Regions from separate parts of the Homo sapiens genome. Here region 1 is linked to region 2. The links are contacts of gene promoters, found by promoter capture Hi-C in blood cells and fetal thymus (Javierre and others, 2016). All regions are on one chromosome and are shown on one strand. The core of a region is centred on a gene start or on the middle of the fragment in contact, and the rest is flanking DNA. Distances in the headings are between cores, read along the strand shown.

Evidence for each region. The method cuts DNA at HindIII sites, captures the fragments that hold promoters and counts their contacts. A CHiCAGO score of 5 or more calls a contact.
Region 1: a fragment that was not itself captured here is called in contact with the fragment with the promoter of SPEF1 in region 2 in 1 of 17 cell types (endothelial precursors); the score reaches 8.5 in endothelial precursors.

The regions. Positions count from the first base shown.
Region 1 is chr20:3,715,299-3,718,781 of GRCh38, reverse strand. No RefSeq gene overlaps it. Among named protein-coding and RNA genes, the nearest start is that of SIGLEC1, 4.4 kb to the right of the region's middle. RefSeq lists an enhancer at 1,727-1,896 and a silencer at 2,252-2,311. The HindIII fragment of the contact is 716 bases long and covers 1,393-2,108 here.
Region 2 is chr20:3,779,980-3,783,526 of GRCh38, reverse strand. SPEF1 (sperm flagellar 1) reads left to right here and starts at 2,079. Exons shown (of 7, transcript NM_015417.5): 1 at 2,079-2,348. The coding sequence starts at 2,240. RefSeq lists enhancers at 1,780-1,929, 1,891-2,185. The HindIII fragment of the contact is 3,327 bases long and covers 1-3,150 here.

The DNA of each region.
Region 1 (3,483 bases), core at 501-3,000, 64 kb after region 2:
GTTCTTTGCTGTAGGTTTTTATTTATTTATTTATTTATTTATTTATTTATTTTTTATTTTTTGAGATGGAGTCTCACTCTGTCACCCAGGCTGGAGTGCAGTGGCATGATCTCCGCTCTCTGCAACCTCTACCTCTAGGGTTCAAGCAGGAGGGCAGGGCTTCATCTCCCCCTACTTCTTAGCACTGGGGCCCCAGGATTTACTCGGGCACATCACCTGTTAGAATAAAGACATGAGACCATGTGACTAACCTCTAGCCAGTGGAATATAAGCAGCAATGTAGTGTGCAATTTAAAGAATTACCTTTTTTGTTGTTGTTAAGAGACAAGATCTCACTCTGTCACTCAGGCTGGAATGTAGTGACATAATCATAGTTCAATGCAGCCTCGAGCTCCTGGGTTCAAGTGAACCTCCTACTTCAGCCTCCCAGCTACTCGGGAGGCTGAGGCAGGAGAACCCCACCACACCCAGCTAATTTTTGTATTTTTAGTAGAGACAGGGTTTCACCATGTTGGCAAGGCTGGTCTTGAACTCCTGACCTCAGGTGATCCACCCATCTTGGCCTCCCAGAGTGCTGGGATTACAGGCGTGAGCCAATGCGCCTGGCCTGTTTGTTTCTGGATCTTTCTCTTTGTGTTGGTCTTCCTCACCTGTCTGGTAATACCTGGTAACCAATTCATCTTTATGAACAAAGGGCAGGTTGATTGATACTGGAACTCACCTAGGGTATTTCCTCTGCCCTGCAGTGTTACATGTGGGGGTGGAGAGGTACGTGTGCCAGCTACCAACCCTTTGGGGTGTATTGAGTCCCTGTAGAGAGTCCACTTCTGCTCCGGCCTCTGGGGCAGCTTTCTCTCAGCGTGCTTTGGCTCTGGTTTCCTTTACCCGCATCTGTTCCTGAACGTGATCCTCCCTCTTTCTATCTTCTAGAATTAAATCAAAATCCTGTGCAGTGGATACTTCCCATCCCCCAGCCATCCTGTTCCCAGCCCTTCTGTCTCCTTTTCCCTTTGCTTACTGTGCTCTCAGTGGTATTGGATGGGCCAGGAATGGCAGAGACAAGTTCTCAGTCCACCATCTTGAACTAGATGTTGGTGTGGTGGTTTAAATATGTGTGCGTGTGCGTGTGTGTGTTTAGATGGAGTCTTGCTCTGTCACCCAGGCTGGAGTGCACTGGCACAATCTTGGCTCACTGTGACCGCCACCTCCTGGGTTCAAGTGATTTTCCTGCCTCAGCCTCCTGAGTAGCTGGGATTACAGATGCCTGGCTAATTTTTGTATTTTTAGTAGAGATGGGGTTTCACCATGTTGGCCAGGCTGGTCTCAAACTTCTGACCTCAGGTTATCCGCCCACCTCAGCCTCCCAAAGTGCTGGGATTACAGGCATAAGCTTCCGTGCCCAGACTAAATATTCTTTTTTTTTTTTTTTGAGACAGAGTCTGTCTCTGTGGCCCAGGCTGGAGTGCAGCGGCGCGATCTCGGCTCACTGCAAGCTCCGCCTCCCGGGTTCACGCCATTCTCCTGCCTCAGCCTCCCGAGTAGCTGGGACTACAGGCGTGAGCCACCGCGCCCAGCCGGCTAAATGTTCTTAACTCCATCTGACTCTGTACAGACGGTGTCCTTTGGGGACTGCATGTGTTCCACTGTATGCCCAGACCCTGAGCAGGGAATAAAACGGGAGGACATGTACATGGGTCTTTTAACTTTCTTGTAACGGGCATCCTTGGGCTTGTTGACTTTCCCTGGAAGTCTCTGGCTTCAGAGCCGGTCCCTTAGTGGGTCATTCCACCTAGACCTTGTGGTTGTGTTGAGGAGGGAGGTCCCTTCAGTGTCTCTGAAAACCCCAGAGCCTTGAAACACTCAGGGACAGAAGTGGGTGAGTACAAGATGCATGAACAGGAGAGGAGAGCCAGAGGGACAGATGACAGACTGGGTGAGGTGACTGAATGAGTGAGGGTCCAGGGTGTGGCTATGAGAGTAGAGGTCACCTCGGGTGGAGGAGAGAGGAGAGTACGGCCTTCAGATACCCAATAAGAGAAGCAACAGCAGAGCCAACATTCTCAGAGCTCTTTTGATGTTCCAGGCCCTGGGAACTCTTCATACAAGCTTTCCAGAGGACTCTAGCTTCTGAGTCATTGAGTGACTCCTGGGATCGTAGAGCAGGTGATGGATATGCCTGGATTTGAACCCAGCTCTATGCAGGACCTAGGCTTTTAGCCAGTGAGCTACATGACTCCCATCTGCCCCAAGCTGACTACAGTATGGGTCTCAAAGATCTCCCTTGGGCCTCTATAGACTGAGTTGTCCCCACCTGAGACACAGCAAGTGGGTCTGAAGGCTGAGGAAGCAGAGGGCTCTGGCACCCTCTGGGGGAGGCAGGAGGCTCTGCAGAGATACTGGCAAGGAGGTGGGCAGGGGCCTGAGGCTGGAATCTGGGTAGGTCCAAGGAATGAATGACTGAATTAAGGTCCTGGTTGCTCCACAGGAGGGCAGGGCTTCATCTCCCTCTACTTCTTAGCACTGGGCCCCCAGGATTCACTCGGGCACATCACCTGTTAGAATAAAGACTTAAGACCATGTGACTAACTTCTAGCTTCTAGTGGAATATAAGCAGCAATAAAGTGTACAATTTAAAGAATTACCTTTTTTGTTGTTGTTAAGAGACAAGATCTCACTCTGTCACTCAGGCTGGAATGCAGTGACACAATTATAGTTCACTGCAGCCTCAAGCTCCTGGGTTCAAGTGAACCTCCTGCTTCAGCCTCCTGAGTGGCTGGTATTGCAGGAGTGACCCACCACATCAGCAATTTAAGGAGTTATCTTAAAGTAGAGGGCATGGCCTACTTTGTCCTTTCCTCCATCCTGCTTTCCCGAATGCAGATACAGTGGCTGGAGCGCAAGCAGCCACTTTGGACAATGACTGGAAGCAGCCCATTGACAATGACTGAGCCAAAAAATAAAAAGGGATCTAGTTTCATGATTGTGGAGTTGTCATATCATCTTGGATGCCAACACTTACTTGAGGGAGAGGGTGAAACACTTCTATTTTATTTAAAACACCGTTATTTGGTGTTTTCTATACTTGTAGCAAAACTTATTTTTTTTCAACCAAAAAGTTTTGTCTTTGGCAAATTCTCTAACCTCCCTATGACTTGGTTTTCCTATCTGGAACGAGAATAATTCACTGGGTATGGTGGCTCATACCTGTAATCCCAGCACTTTGGGAGGCCAAGGTGGGTGGATCACTTGACTGGGAACTCTCAGGAGTGTGAGACCAGCCTGGGCAACATGGTGAAGCCCCATCTCTACAAAAAAATACAAAAATTGGCTGCGTCTGGTGGTACTCACCTGTAGTCCCAGCAACTTGGGAGGCTGAGGCAGGAGGATCACTTGAGCCTAGGAGGTCAAAGTTGCAGTGAGCCGAGATTGTGCCATTGCACTCCAGCCTGTCCAGCCTGGGTGACAGTGAGACCCTATCTCCAA
Region 2 (3,547 bases), core at 830-3,329:
ATAGGTCACCCTTTGGTTTACCTTTGGTGCCTTAAGAGGGAGCCCTTTAGGCCTTTCAGTGATTGGCATATCCAAGCCTGGTGGCCACCTCTAGGCACAGTGGCAGGAGGAAGGTGAAATTGCTAGGAACAGGTTGCACCCCCAAGAGGCAGAGGATGGTTGGTAACTCCCTGTGCAGTGCCTTCCAGGGGGCCCCCAGTACAAAGGTGAGGTCAGGTCCCTTTGCTGATCCTACCCTTTTTCCTTTCAGAGCCAGCCCCTCCCTCCCTACCCCTCCTCACTGAGGCCCTCAGGCCCCAGCAGTTCCAACCAAGGGAGGGCCTGGGCTTGAGCATGGCTGGCAGCTCTGGGCCCCAAACCGGTTTTCCCACCTCACCTGAGGCTGGCACATCACTTCTGTGTTTCCTTCCCATCCCCGGCCCACCTTTACCACCAAGTTTCTCCTCTCCAACACTGGGAATGTTAATGGGGGAGTATCCAGTTCATCTCTTGTCCCTGGCCTGCCCTGGTTATGGCCCCTTATGGAAAATCAAGACCACTATATATGACTTTAAAACAAGAAATGGGGGTGACTTCCACTCTTGGCCTCTACTTCTGGCATTCAGGAATCCCCTCCAGGCCTTGAGGGCTTTGAAGTGACAACAAAAAGTAGTTGGGATCCCCCTTGCCACCACCTTCCCTCCCGAAATCCGAGCCCTGGAGTTGGAGACCAGAAGGCCACAAGGAAGCCCCACCTGCTCTCGAGTGAGCAGGAGGAGCATTGCCTGCTTGCCCAGGTGCTCCTGTTTAACCCAGCTACCTCACCGCAGGTTCCAACAAGACGAATTACTTCCATTTGTCTCCTGCGAAAAAGAACAGTTCTTGCTGGAACTGAGACTGTCTCATTAATGATAGTACCAGCTGATACTAATAGGGCCCCTGCTCTGTGCTAAATGCTTTAGATGCTCACAAAGCCCCTATAAGGTAGGTAAAGCCATGAGAAACCAGGCAGCGGTCCGGTCAGGTGCCCAAGGCCATGCCGTTAGTCAAACTCTCTTCTCATCCTGACTCTAGAAGTACCTCTTCACTAAGGAGGGACCCATATTCCTAACCCCCTTATGGGTACTGCAATGAATTTGTTTCTTTCTTTTCTTTTCTTTCTTTTTTTTTTTTTTTTGAGATGGAGTCCCGCTCTGTCGCCTAGGCTGGAGTGCAATAGCATGATCTTGGCTCACCAACCTTTGACTCCCGGGTTCAAGCGATTCTCTTGCCTCAGCCTCCTCAGTGGCTGGGATTACAGGCATCCACCACCACACATGGCTAACTTTTTTTTGTATTTTCAGTAGAGACGGGGCGAAAGCCATGTTGGCCAGGCTGGTCTCGAACTCCTGACCTCAGGTGATCTGCCCGCCTCGGCCTCCCAAAGTGCTGGGATTACAGGCATGAGCCACTGTGCCCTGCCTGAAATGAATTTCTAATCCATGGAAGAATAGCTCATTGACGGGTGATGAGGGGTTTGGGACAAATAAGTGAGAACCATCGTCATTTCACAAAGGAGGAAATAGAGTTAAGAAGTTAAATGACCTGCCAAGGTACTGGCCTTGAACTCTGGTGTTCTCCCTGGGAGTCTGGGTTACCTATTAAATACCCCACTAGAACACTGCTGGGAAGGGCGAGTGGCAATGGCCCCATGAGCATAGAGTTTTTGGAGAGGGACGAAGCAGGAAGCAGTTGTATCACGCAATCCATTTGGGTGGCAGATTATCAACAACGCACCCCCAAATAAAGCTGACCAACACTGGAGTGCTCCCTTCACTTGGGACTAAAGGGCTGAAGGGCCAAGAAGGGGGATCCCCACCCTAGGGGTGCAGATGCAGGAATTCTGGGGTCCTGGTTGGCTTTGGCTGGTCCCAAAATGGATGAGTGGCTGGTCACTAGGTGGCGTGGGCACAGAAGTGATGCTTTCTTGGGAAGAAGACAAGGGCAGCTAACCGCCTTTTCAAAGCTCGGGCCTGAGAGGAGGTAGCGGGGAGGGGATAAAACTACAACTCCCAGAAGTCTTTGTACCCAGGAGAGTCGGGAATGGTTTCCATGGTTTCAGAAAACAATATGGCCGCTCCCAGCTGGGACGTGAGTCTCTGGATTAGGCAGGCAGAGGCAGTTATGGGCTTCTGCAGTGGCGAGAAAGGAAGCGCCTGAAGGGTCGTGAGGCTGGGGCGGGACCCGGCACCGCTGGGGCGGCCAGGCCGTGAGGACGCCAATGGCGAGCAGCGTGGACGAGGAGGCGCTGCACCAGCTGTACCTGTGGGTAGACAACATCCCTCTGTCCCGGCCCAAGCGAAACCTCTCCCGGGACTTTAGCGATGGAGGTGTGTGCCCTTGTGTGTCTGCATGTTCTGTCCTGTATGTTCGTGTGTAACGGGTCTCTGTGCAAACTCTTTGTGTTTGTGTGCTTGTGGGAGTGGGGAGGAATCTGCCTCCTGGGACTTCAAATTTTAGATGTGTGTGCTTGTTTTCTATTTGCATCTGTGTGTGAACGATGTGTGTCCATATATGTATGTCTACATGTTCTATCCTGTGTGCATGTTGGGGGGGGTGCCTCTAACTCCCTCCAGGGACATTAATGATTAAGATATGTGTCTGCATATGTATTTATGCATTTCTGTATGTGCTCACTCATTGCTATGTGTTCTATGTCTTCTGGGAGTCTGAGCATGTGTGTGTTCATATGTGTTGACATGTTTAGTCTTGTATTTGGGGGGGTCTTGTGTGCATGTGTTTCTTTGTGATTGTGAAGGTGTTTGTGTTTCTAGGAATGTCTCCTGGGATCTCAATGACAGAAATACTTATCTGTCATCTTTTCATGTCAAGTACTTCTATGCATCTCTGTATCTGTATATTTGGGGAGGCTGTGTGCATATGTGGCTTTTTGTGCTTCTGTCTATGTGTGTTCTACATGTGTGCCTATGTGTGTCTAGCATGTGTTTGTTCTATGTGTCTACACATTCTGCCCTATGTATCTATGTGTAGGGGGATCTTATCACATGTGTCTCTGCTTACGTGAGTCTTTTACTCTCCTGGAACTTTGGTGTTGGAGTGTGTGTGTGTGTGTGTGTGTGTGTGTGTGTGTGCATCATGCATCCATGTGAATTCCCTGGGCTCCTGAAAGCTTCTCTTGGAGACTCATTCTCTTTTTTTTTTTTTTTTTTTTTTGAGACAGAGTCTCACTCTTGTCGCCCAGGCTGGAGTGCAGTGGCATGATCTCAGCTCACTGCAACCTCCACCTCCTGAGTTCAAGCGATTCTTCTGCCTCAGCCACCCAAGTAGCTGGGTTTACATGCACCACCACACCTGGCTAACTTTTGTATTTTTAGTAGAGATGGGGTTTCACCATGTTGGCCAGGCTGGTCTCGAACTCCTGGCCTCAGGTGATCTACCCGCCTCAGCCTCCCAAAGTGTTGGGATTACAGGTGTGAGCCCCTGCACTGGCTGACTCATTCTCTACTGGAGGACCAGAGACTCAGTATTCCCATTCCTAAATTAGTGGGGAAGGGATGCAGCTCCTCTG